Linked DNA regions of Homo sapiens: region 2 is linked to region 1. The links are contacts of gene promoters, found by promoter capture Hi-C in human tissues and cell types (Jung and others, 2019). All regions are on one chromosome and are shown on one strand. Each heading gives the region's core, a stretch centred on a gene start or on the middle of the fragment in contact. The rest is flanking DNA. Distances are from core to core; before and after follow the strand shown.

Evidence for each region. Contacts are between HindIII fragments. The study calls those that stand out against the background at their distance.
Region 2: a fragment that was not itself captured here is called in contact with the fragment with the promoter of CD302 in region 1 in 1 of the 25 tissues and cell types used here (lymphoblastoid cells).

Annotation. Positions count from the first base shown.
Region 1 is chr2:159,794,652-159,801,085 of GRCh38, reverse strand. CD302 (CD302 molecule) reads left to right here and starts at 2,878. Exons shown (of 6, transcript NM_014880.5): 1 at 2,878-2,954. The coding sequence starts at 2,888. The region is part of intron 33 of LY75-CD302 (LY75-CD302 readthrough); the gene reads left to right. LOC124906083 (a long non-coding RNA gene) reads right to left here and starts at 5,896. Exons shown (of 2, transcript XR_007087273.1): 1 at 3,134-5,896; 2 at 834-2,267. The HindIII fragment of the contact is 5,989 bases long and covers 1-4,004 here.
Region 2 is chr2:159,202,339-159,208,711 of GRCh38, reverse strand. All of the region lies in intron 19 of TANC1 (tetratricopeptide repeat, ankyrin repeat and coiled-coil containing 1), which reads right to left. Among named protein-coding and RNA genes, the nearest start is that of MIR6888, 19 kb to the right of the region's middle. The HindIII fragment of the contact is 3,711 bases long and covers 722-4,432 here.

The sequences.
Region 1 (6,434 bases), core at 1,629-4,128:
GCAAGGGACTGAAGTCTGGCATGAGCCAAAAGAGGATGTAAGTTGGAGACAGAGTGAAGGAAAATTAAGGGTATGAGGTGTAACTGGAGAGTAAATGGGAGAGCGAAATATAACAGTACCCACATACAGGCAATAAGTAGTCTATTTCATCAGATTAGCATCAAAAATGAGGCAGTGTGCACCAGAGTTAACAATAAAATAATATAATTTTCTTTAGTACAAATGACTTAAAATGACAGTGTTAAAATGGGTTTTGCCTTAATTAGATTGATTCATTAGGATGTCAATTCTATTGTAAATATAAAAATATTTGAAAAGTAGCTTAACACAAAACCACATTGATAAAATATACTTTGGTGCCTGAGGTGGGGGTGGAAGAGATAACTTTCACAATTACATGATTGCTTAGAACTGTTCATTTTACTTCTGTAGTTAGGAGGGCAAAAGGGTCCAGAATCAAGATGTGTCAATATTCCAATATAGAGTATCTTTGGAAGGATTTGCTCTGGTCTGGAGTTTGGTATATAATAAACTCAGTATTGGCAGCCTGAGAAGAAAAATGGAAGTAAATAAGTTAAGCAAGACCTTAATACTTTGGCAAAGGGGCAGAACCTGGAATAGGTGGGAGAGTCCAGCAGAGGAGCTGGGCTCTGGTTCATTTGTTGGCATTCTCTGTGAGCCCACGGGGGAATCACATCCCTTCTTTGGGTCACTCAATTTCCTTACTAGTACCACTTCTAACACTCTATGACTCTCCTTATAGACCCCTTGGGTCAAATTTCCTTGGTGTAACCACTCTGGATTATCAGAAGTGTGGAAAGGGTTAGAAAGAGTTGGAAAGGGTCAGATTTTATTTTTTTAAAAATAGACTAATTTTTGAGCAGTTTTAGATGTATACAAAAAATGTAGCAGAAGGTACAGAGCTCCCATGTACCTCCTTACACATACCCCAGTTTCCCCAATTATTAACATCTTGCATTAGCAGGTACATTTGTTACAGTGGATGAGCCAATATTGACACATTATTAACTAAAGTCCATTGTCCACACTAGGGTTCATCTTCGTTTTGTGCATTCTATGGGTTTTGACACATGTATAGTGATACACATCTACCATTACAGTATCCTACAGAATAATTTCATGGCTCTAAAAATCCTCTGTGTTCCATCTATTCATCCCCTCCTTCTTCCCACCCCAACCCCTGGCAACCATTTATCTTTTTACTGTCTCCATAGTTTTGCCTTGTCTAAAATGTCATATAGTTGGAATCATATAGTATGCAGTCTTTTCAGATTGGCTTCTTTCTCTTAGCAATACATATTTAAAGTTCTTCCATGTCTTTTTGTGGCTTGATAGCTCATTTAATTTTGGTACTGAGTAACATTTCATTGTTTGGATGTGCCATTGTTTATCCATTCACTTATTGAAGGACATCTTGTTTGCCTCTAGGTTCTGGCAATTATGAATAAAGCTGCTATCAACATTCATGTGCAGGTTTTTGTGTGTATGTAAGTTTTTAACTCATTTGGATAAATACCAAGGAGTTGTGATTGCTAGATGGTATGGTAAGAGTACGTTTAGTTTTGGAAGAAGCTTCCAAATTGTCTTCCAAAGTGGCTGTACCATTTTGCATTTGCACCAGCATTGAATGAGAGTTCTTTTTGCTCCACATCTTTGCCAGCATGTGGTCTTGTCAGTGTTTTTGGATTCTGGTATCTAATAGGTATGTAGTGGTATTTCATTTTTGTTTTCATATACAATTCAGCAATGACATATGATGTTGAGCATCTTTTCATCTATTTGCCATTATATAACTTCTTTGATGACGTGTGTATTCAGATCATCTGACCATTTTTTTTAACTGGGTCATTTGTTTTCACGTTGTTGAGTTTAGACTTGATTTTATAGAACTCTTTTGCCAATGACATGAGGCTTAAACAAGCACCCTTGCTTGACCCTGGCTAGTGTTGTCCAGAGGCCCTCATGGGTGAAGTATAATTGCACAGTTTATGCATACATTGTAGCAAACATAGCTTAAAGACTCTTCATCCAGGAGCTGGTAACAGAGAAAAGTTGTCTAAGAGACATAGTCCACTGAAAGGGGTCTTTGAAAAGGAGGATTCTGGCCAGTAGATCCAAAGAAGAAGGCTGGCAAACGCCACCTTAACCAACTGATCCAAGTTAACATCAGTGATGAGACATCGACATCTTGTCCTTCTCGAGCACGTACATCACTTCTGGGGAACTCTTTCCCAAAAAAGCGCAACCTGAATCCAATTAGAAGGAAATGTCAGACAAAATGAAACTGAGGGACATTCTACAAAACGACTGGCCAGTACTTTTTAAATGTGGTTTGATCGTGAAAGAAAAAGAATGACAGAGAACCGTCCTAGATTAAAGGGAGACTAAGGAGACACGACATGCAATGTATGATCCTGGATTGAATCTTGGAACAGAAAAGGACCCTTAGAGGGGCAATTAATGAAATGTGGTAAGTGCTGTAGATTAGCTAATCGCATTATCCCAGTGCGAGTGCCCTGTGTTTGATCACTGCACTGGCGTTATATACAATGTCAATATTTAGAGAAGCTGGCTGAAGGGTTACGGAAATCTCTTGTGCTGTTTTTGCAACATTTTCGAAAGTCCTAAATTATTTCAATTCAAATGAAAAGTTTAAAAAACAAAAATTAGAAGTTCCAGAAGGCCGCGCGCCAGCCGCTCCTGCGGGACGGGACACCCGGGTTCTCCTGGTGGGAGCCCCCAGTGCCGTTCACGTTCCGCCCGGGGGGGGGATTAAACTCGCACGCGAGAAGCACCGCCCCCGCTCCCGCCCCGCCCCGCTCCTCTCCGGCCGCGCAGCCGCTGCCGCCCACCCGCACCCGCCGTCATGCTCCGGGCCGCGCTGCCCGCGCTCCTGCTGCCGTTGCTGGGCCTCGCCGCTGCTGCCGTCGCGGGTAAGCCCTTACGTAGTCCCTCGCCGGGACCGTGCGCGACCGCCTTCGCCCCCTTCCCAACGCACGCTCTTCGTCCCCGCGCACCCGAGGGCGGCCCGCAGACGCAACACCCGGCCGGCCATCCCGCCCTTCCCTGCACGCCCGTCCCCCGTGGGTCCTGGCTCCGGGTCACCTCTCACCCGCCTGCCCTCGGGGAGGGGAGGTGGCCGAGAATAAGGGAGGGCTCTGTCTTCCTCGGAGTCCACATCCTCACCGCAGACCCCACTCCGCGGGGAGGGAACCCCCAAATTAGGCCAGTTGGCCGGAGAACTGAGGGACTTGGAGTCGCACGACGGGCGCCGTTTCAGGGCAATTTCGGGCTGAAATGAGAAGCGGGGACGTTGGTGGCGATTTCCCCTGCTGGTGCGCGGCCGGAGTGGGGTTGCTGGGATGGGGGTGGGGGCCGGAGGAAGTAGGCCCTCTTTTGCAAGCAGCGCTGTTTGTCTAGTTGGTTGGTGTTCAAGTTGTTTAAACAGGAAAACAGTTCAGCCAAATAACCCCTGGATGGAAGAGGAACGGGAATAGGCAAAGCTTGGATTTCACTGAAATCAAGGAGTTTTAAAGTTCTAGTCTGCTGTTGTGCAAGTGACATCTGAAAAATCACACACGTGATCATTCATTTACAAAACGACTCGTGAGGAAAATGCACAATTCTATTGACCGTGGTCTTTATTTTTAAAAAATTTCCATACAAGCATGTCAAAAATATGTGGATGGGGAGACTCTGGAGAACACAGACTTCCAAAAACACCACTGACTGAATAATTCCAGGAATTAAAGAGCAAAATAAACAAGAACTAAATGAGTACTTGTGTGGGCTTAAATAAAGTGCAAGAGATTTAAATAAAATGCAAGAGATTCCCCCCCCCCACCCCTTGCCCCAGATTTCACTGCGTTTTTATAATAACTGCCTGCTCGAAGTCTACTGACAGGAATATTTCAGTGGACCTCAGTGTTGGAGGCAGCAGCAGCTCAGAACTTGGATACAAACCCAAGGTTCCTTTCTTGAAAACTTCTGTGGACCTGCATTTATGACTGGTTGTGACATCTGCTGCCTATCAAAGGGGCAGAAACAAGATGTGCCCATGTTCACATTGTTCAGACTGGGAACATTAATTTTGTCTAAGACAAAGCTGGGCTGTCTCTGAACCCTCCTTCTGCACACCCTCATTTTGCGAGCCAGTAACATCTCAACTCTCATGTAAACCACCCTCTGCGAGGCTGTGCATTTGTACTTTAGGCTAGTCGAATTTTCTTGTCAGATTTTTCTTTCTTGTCAGACTTTTAAAGAAAATCAGTTTCTAGATTTTGGTATGTCTCTTCTTCAGTGAAGCTGTTTTGACCAGCAATAGAGGGCAAATTTCCCTTTGGAAATTTTTGTGCATTTCCTTTGATAAGTCCAGTGTGGATCAATAGGCTTTTCAAGAGCTTTAGAAAAGTGCATGATGAATAAATTAATGTTAATTAATCAGCTCCTCCCAGTCAGGAAGCTTTAAGGATTAATTTGGAAATGAGTGTGAGCTTTGACCTAGCTAGTTAACCAACTTATCTGCACTTCAGTAAAACAGAGATAATACTTACTCATGGGGCTATTGGGAGCATTAAGTGGGAACTCCACGTCTAGTCCCTATTACAGGCGTGGTTCATCTTGGTTTCCTTCCCTTTATTCTCTTCATACAAAATGAAGGGTAATTGTTGCAACCAGAAAACGTATGAATACCACCTTATGTATATTGGATGTTTATGGTTACTGAACACATTCATATGTATGCTAATGTTATAGGGCTGAAAAACTAAGTGTGTTTTTCATAATACTTTACAAATCTCCCATCCAAGCAAGATCAGGGGTCATATTTGGCTTAGAACTAAGTCAAGAAAGAGTTTGTTGCTGAATACCAAGATCTTAATAGAAAAGCTCTTATGATGTTGCATAATAAATATGGGTATTGCATATAAATGTGATGTTGAAACGGAAATCATTGTTATTGTCTGTCATTCTGGAGGTTATTAGTGAAGTGATCTTAACCTTGTTCTTAGCTATTATTTTGAAAATCACAGTGGACAAAACATTCTTTAAATTCCTGAGTGAAAATCCATGGCATCGCTTTAAAAAGTTTTTCCGTAAGGGTGCTTAAGCACATAATAGATGATCAGTATGTATTTATTTGGTCAGTGGTTTCCTATGCCTGGCATGAGCTGAGTGAACAAGCATGTTCCGAGTAAGTCCTCATTCTGTGATCATCATGTGGATCAGAATCTAGGGATTTTGAATTGCCATGTCCTACAAGCCTTAGATGAGGTGCCTCTGCCTTCTTCCCTGATGTCATCTCTTACCACCCTTCCTGCCATTCACTCTGTGTATCCACAGAGTAAACAGTATCTGGGTACTCCAACACCTCTGGTCCTTCTGTGCACACCACCTTCCCCCAGTCCTTGGCATGGCTGCCCCCACCTCCACCATTCAGATCTCTGTTCATATGTCACCTTCTCCGAAGCCTCCCTGAACACCCACATTCTCTGTCACATGTCCATGTTTTATCTTTTCCAAGCCTTTCTGAATGCATTGTGTTTATTCATCTGTCTTGCTTGTTGCTTCTCTTACCAGGGGAAAGAAGCTCCATAACAGAGATTTTACCATCTTGTGGATTTTTGTTTTGTTTTGATTTGTGTCTCTGCACTTTATTCTAAGTTATAATAAAAGGATGAAAAAATTTAGGTGAGTTATTTAAAAAGTAGGTAGGATAAGTGGATTGCAATTTTTTTCAAATTATATTACCTCTGCTATGCACTCATTTCATAATGAATTCAAAGCCTTAAATCATCTTAATCTATTGCTGCCACCTTTTCTTTCTTTCTTTTTTTTTTTTTCCGAGATGGAGTCTCACTCTGTCACCCAGGCTGGAGTGCGGTGGCGCAATCTCGGCTCACAGCAACCTCTACCTTCTGGGTTCAAGCAATTCTCCTGCCTCAGCCTCCCGAGTAGCTGGGATTACAGGCATGCGCCACCATGCCTGGCTAACTTTTGTATTTTTAGTAGAGATGGGGTTTCACCATGTTGGCCAGGCTGGTCTCAAACTCCTGGCCTCGTGATCTGCCCACCTCGGCCTCCCAAAGTGCTGGGATTACAGGTGTGAGCCACCGTGCCCGGCCTGATGCCACCTTTTCTGACTCTTGTGTATGGCACAGTTATGTTTCAGGGGAAATTATCTCAGATTAAATATTAGAGTATTTTAAAATAAATTTTGAGCTGGGCGTGGTGGCTCACGCCTGTAATCCCAGCACTTTGGGAGGCCGAGGCGGGTGGATCACGAGGTCAGGAGATCGAGACCATCCTGGCTAACACGGTGAAACCCTGTCTCTACTAAAAATACAAAAAATTAGCCGGGCGTGGTGGCAGGCACCTGTGGTCCCAGCTACTCAGGAGGCTGAGGCAGGAGAATG
Region 2 (6,373 bases), core at 1,328-3,827, 590 kb after region 1:
ATCTCCCAATGGCCATGATGGGGCCTGCAGAAGCAGCCTGGCTGGAGCCAAGTATGGGGATTCTGTGTTATAAGGCAACAGGCATCAACCAAGCATCATGGAAAAATGTGGCTCCCTCTGCCGACAGACATGAACCCATTTTCACCGAGCTATCTAACAGAGGTGAATACAGGGCAGAATCCAAATCTGGGTAACCAGAACACTCCTGACCATGTTACAAACTCTACTGTAAAAACACTGTCAGCCTGTATGTGCATTCAAGATTAAACAGGAACCTCAAATTGCCAACTTCTTTTAAAAAATAAAATGTGTAACTGCACCTGTAAACAGGACTTCATGTGTGTGATCAAAATTCCTTTCTTTTCCATCCTTCACTTATGACTCCATCTTCCAAAGTAATTGCAAAATTGAAGATTCCATCACTTATACATCCACTTATTCAACTGACAAATGTATAGCATACATTAACATATTATATTAATAATATTAATCAACTTATCACAACCCTGACAATACATAGCATTGTATCAACACGTATCAACTGCTGAGAGCTGCACAAAATACCCTGGGTGGATTCTCATTTAATCTTGTTAAGAACCTTTTGAACCAGGTGTCATGATGATGCCCATGTTACTGAGGTGAAATAACTGAGTCACAGGGGTTATATCATCTGCCCCAAATCACAAAGGGAATCAGTGTCAGTATCAGAAATTTAACCCAAGCAACTGAATGGACCTGAAGTCATGCTCTTGATTAAAACAGGAAGATGCTATTGGATTTAAATAACATACCATGCCATTTGTAAAGGGCTGCCTACACGATGCTCTTGGTCCTCCATATTCATAAATTCAGTGAACACAATCAACTTCTATGAGGCAAGCACTACTCTTAGTTCTCTGTTACAGATGAGGAAAATAAGCCTCCGAAATTAAACCACTTACTTAAGGTCCCACAGCTAGAGGGAGTGTGGCTAAGTCTGAGTTGTTTTTTTTTTTTTTTTTTTTTTTTTTTTTTGAGACACGTGTTGCTCAGTCGCCCAGGCTGGAGTACAGTGGCGCGATCTCGGCTCACTGCAACCTCTGCCTCCTGGGTTCAAGGAATTCCCTGACTCAGCCTCCTGAGTAGCTGAGATTACAGGTACCCGCCACCACGCCTGGCTAGTTTTTGTATTTTTAGTAGAGACGGGGTTTCACCATGTTGGCCAGACTGGTCTTGAACTCCTGACCTCGTGATCCACCCGCCTCAGTCTCCCAAAGTGCTGGGATTACAGGCGTGAGCCACTGGACCTGGCCAGTCTGAGTTCTTAGCTCCTACAATGCTGCCTCCAGGAAGTCACCTTTAAAAATATCTAAAGCATCCAACAGCCTTCTATGAGAGTTGTTTAGAATGAAAGTACCAGAAAGTGCTTCTCTTTTTCTGAGGAACTGCTGCGATTTCTCCCATGGACAATAAAAATGGTTTACAAGGATTGTGTTCCCCTCTAATTCTGGCCACATGGCATTCCACAGCCACAGTAGTAGCTCAATTTAGTATGCCATGGCACGAATGTTTGAGCGGTTCCTCATGTCCTATTCCTGACTTAGTGTTTTAAAGTTCTTATCTGCATCATTTCAAGTAAGTCTCTTCAAATCCTTTGAGGAATAATGTGTGTGCTATAAATAATGTAACCTCAATTTAAAAATAATTTCCTAAAAGATCAACAACATAAGCCATCTTTCATACAGACTTTGTTCTTCTAAGAATCCATGAGAAGACCGGACCTTTGGACAGCTGTCACTTCTAAAGTGTGCTGAGAATGTTCGCATGTGGAAGGCTGGGTTACACACCAAGTTATTTAAAGCAGGCATAAGGTTCTCTCTCTCCTCTCGGTAAGGGCTAAGCTTGTGCTGAGGACTTCATTACATGCCAGGACACCACATGAGGTCTCAGTGTAAAAAGGGGGCATTTCCACAAAAGCATTTTACACAACCTCACATCTGGCCCCCAAAACACAGAAAGAATCCAAATATCATTTCAAGAAGAAACAAGGATGATTTTTCTGTGGGAGTGTAATCCTTCCCAAAATATGAATGAATACATTTTTCTGTTGAAGGCAGAAGTATTTTTTATTAAATACTCAGGAATCACTCACTAGAAAAATGGACTCTGTACAGCAAGAACAGCTTGATGAAGGTGGTCAAGGGGCTAATTTGTTCGTGCTTGAGACACCACCCCTGGGTTTCTACCTGCTCACTGCTGGCCACTCAGCCTGCCCTACAGGGCGGGGACATGCTGACCTGACCCCTCTGCCTTCTTCGCAGAGAGGAGTGGTCTCCGGAACCCACCCACATCAGGGGCAAAACCCAGGGGTCTGTGAGACCAGGAGGATAGGGTATGGACAAACCCAGCCCCCTCAGTTCTGATCCCCTATCTGCCTCCACTGTTTGGAGGACCCCCATACACATCCTCCTCCATCCAGAGCCCTGTTACCCCTTCCATGTTGGTAACCCCACTTTGTCCCTCCCCTTACAGGGCACAGGGTCACCCCACCCCATCTTGCTCCTTTCAGGATCCTGGGTGGTCCCTCCCACGCACCCTTGAGGGTACTGGCTTACTCCCCATCGTGTTGCTTTGCCGAGGATAGTTCTGACTGACAGCAGTCTGGACTTCCATGCCCACTAATCTTACTGAACCTTCTTAGAACAAACACTTGCAGAGGAAGGAATGCCTTGATAAAAAATTTCCAAAACCAGTACTGGTGAGATGCTCAGGACCTCTGAAAAATCCAGTATCTTCAGTGTACGACAGCAAGTCGCAGTTTTCTCTACAGCATCCTCCATGTGCGTTCCATGTAACACATATTCTCCACATGCCCCAACAAGCCATGGGCAAACGCTTTCCTTCCAATCTCTCACCTGAAATTCTGTCCTGAGATGTGCATGCATCACCTAATGAGGTGGATACTTCCTGAGAAAGGCCACACATCATCAATGACAGGGATGCATCCTGAGAAATGAGTCGTTAGGTGATTGTATCATTGTGCTAATACCACATAGTGGACTTACACAAACTTCGATGGTGTAGCCTACTACATGCCTAGACTATATGGTACAGCCTTTTGCTCCTAAACTGCTAAGCTGTACAGCCTGTTACTGTAGTGGATACTGTAGGCAGCTGTAACACGGTGGTACTTGTGTAACAAAACATAGAAAAAGTAGCAACATAGAAAAAATAAAGACACAGTATTGTATGGGAACACCTTCTCACATGCAGTCCATCGCTGACAGAAACATCATTATGTGGGGGATGGCTGTATATGTGACTGCAAGGCTCAATCCAGTAGGCCTGACATTTATTTTACATTCTTACCAAAGAACAGCCCCTTCTCTCTCCAAAATGCCTAAGGTAAATTCAAATGAAGAACGGGTCATTTTTACACCAACAGTAATTAGGCATCCAGCTCCCTGTGCTCTGGGGCAGCCTTGGATGTGGGAAGCCCACCGTCCACGCCTGGGGCCTCCCTGTGACTGAAGCCAAAAGAGCCACAAAAGGGGAAAGGAAAGCAGTCCCATGGAAACAAGAGGGAAACGAAAATCATCAAAGTGTCAAATACAACAGGACCCAGCTTCGCAGCCCAATTTGGAAACAGGTGTGAGGACCCCACCCCCAAGAGGGGCCTGGAAACACCCACCCCAGCTGCAGGGCACTGCCTGAGGCTCAAGATCCAGAGGGAGCAGGTTCTGTCCAAAATTCCATCCAGAATTAGTGAACAGTAAACTACGGTGAGCACACATGCCAAGTGGAATTGCTTCAATGCGCTACACAAAGGGAGGCCTACGACGCAGCTAAATAGCCCATTCAATTCACAGCGGAGAAAATCTGGCCCATCTGAACAGAGGCAAATAGTAGCTTTGACAATAAAAATTATTTACCTGACTAAACTCCTTTAGAAAGTATTCAACAATTAAAATATTACTGACTTAACATAAAAACACTTCACATGAAGTATTTCAGTCACACTTTTAACCAACTCCGATAGGGCATCCCCTTCCAGAAATTAGGGAAGCGTAGCCCTGGGGAGCCGCCAGCGTCCTGTGCATGAAGCATGGGGCTCTGGGTGTGCTGGCGACCTTCTTTCAAACAGAAGGACCTCTGAGGAGGTGACCACGACAGGGCAGGACGACTGCCAGAGACCAGCATGAGGACACAGCACACCCAGGCTGCAGAGAGGGAGATGTTATGGACACAGATGGGGCTATGCCCACACCATGCTTGGCTATTAGCTGTGTTCCCAAAGATCCAAACCAGCAGCCCACCATGCCTTCAGCACAGGTGCCCCACCGAGGACTTGGCGAGAGGATCTGAGCCATCTTGGAGTCCAACAGAGCATGGTCTGAGCTAGGACACCAAGAAATCAGGACACTGGGTCTTTATGAGTGACCAGGCCCCTTACTGCTCCCCCTCCAACCACAGGTATTTCTCCCAAATTATTCTGCAAGTGAACATCTCCCTCACTAAAAATATGACTTTGTTTCATTTAAATCCACTTGTCCACTTGGTCAATACCTATATGACAAGGACCAGGCTATACCTGCACTGTCCAATTTGGTGGCCACCTGTCACATGTAATTTAGATAAATTAAGATGAGATTTTAAACTATTGTTCCTCAGTTGCACAAGTCACATTTCAAGTACTCAATAGCCACATGTGGCTAGTAGCTACCATGCTGGACAAAACAGACACCACTTCCATTATTACGGAAAGTTCTATTGGGCAGCACTAGAACGGACGGTTGCCATACACAATGGTGTGGACAAGAGACAGGGAAATTTCTGCCTTCACAAAGCCCATGACTGGCTGGGTGTGGTGGCTCATGCCTGTAATCCCAGCACTTTGGGAGGCTGAGTCAGGAGGACTGCTTGAGCCCAGGGGTTTGAGACCAGCCTAGGCAACATGGCGAATCCCCATGTTTTGCATCTCTACAAAAAAATACAAAAATTAGCCAGGTGTGGTGGCTCATGCCTGTAGTCCTAGCTACTCAGGAGCCCAAGGTGGGAGGAGCACCTGAGTGTGGGGAGGCAGATGCTGCAGTGAACTGTGATTGTGCCACTGCACTCCAACATGGGTGACAGAGTGAGACCCTGTCTCAAAAAACAAACCCAAAAAAGCTCACAATTTGGGAAAAGCAGCCTCCTATCAAATAAGCCACATCAAATAAGCCTATCAAGGCTGGGCGTGGTGGCTCACACCTGTAATCCCACCACTCTGGGAGGCCGAGGTGGGTGGATCATGAGGTCAGGAGATGGAGACCATCCTGGCCAATACAGTGAAACCCCATCTCTACTAAAAATACAAAAATTAGCTTGGCGTGGTGGTGCATGCCTGTAATCCCAGCTACTCGGGAGGCTGAGGCAGGAGAAGCCCTTGAACCAGGGAGTTGGAGGTTGCAGTGAGCCAAGATTGCACCACAGCACTCTAGCCTGGTGACACAGTGAGACTCCATCTCAAAAAAAAAAAAAAAAGAAAAGAAAAGCCTATCGAATAAGATGTACTGATGGTAAGTCCTACGAAGGGAACTGGAGAGTGAGCCAAGGGAGTGGAGAGGGTTAAGGCTCTGATACCAGACAGGACCATCTGCCTGAATGGCAAGTGCTGGAGCAGAAGGGCCTCTGTTCTCTTCTATTCAGAGCAAGGTTCTAACCAGAAGCCCACAAGCAGGCTCACACACTTGAGTGTGGCTTGGAACTTGCAAACACAGTCCTTCTGCCAATCCACAGCAGCATGAGGTCACCAGCTAAGCATCTCTGGTCATTTCGGCTTGGGCTGATTCACAGCAAACACTGACATGGAGATAGTAACTCAGTGTAGCCAGAACTTTCTGGGAGGCAGCATGGAGTTGTCACAGCTGTGGAATGCCTGAAACAGATGCCATAAGCATCTGGTGGGTTCTCACCATGTTTCAGGCTGCCGAGAAACTACGGAACAGACACTGACTGAGTCTGTGAATATCACCGAGCCAAGAGCCTTGGCATCCTGAGGGTGGTACTGTTAGATGCAGGCATTCATCATCTGCTCTGAGCTTTCTTCTGATGAATGGATCATACTACTTATTCTCCACTAGGGCCTTTTGTTTGAGGGTGGGGAGGATGCATGGGGAGAGGGAGAGCTTGAGAGCTACTGGAACGACAGAACTGAGTTCTGAATGGCTGGTCCCTAAACATTGGACAGACAAAAACCAAATGGTCCTGGATGCTGGTGAAAACAGAAACTTAAACAAGTTAAGCCCTCTGCTCTCCAAAACCAGTAGAGACAGTCTGCAAGTTTTCTAAAGGCTGTGGGTTGATTGCAATAAACCCCTAAACCCTAAACTAAATACTGTTCCCATTTTTTATG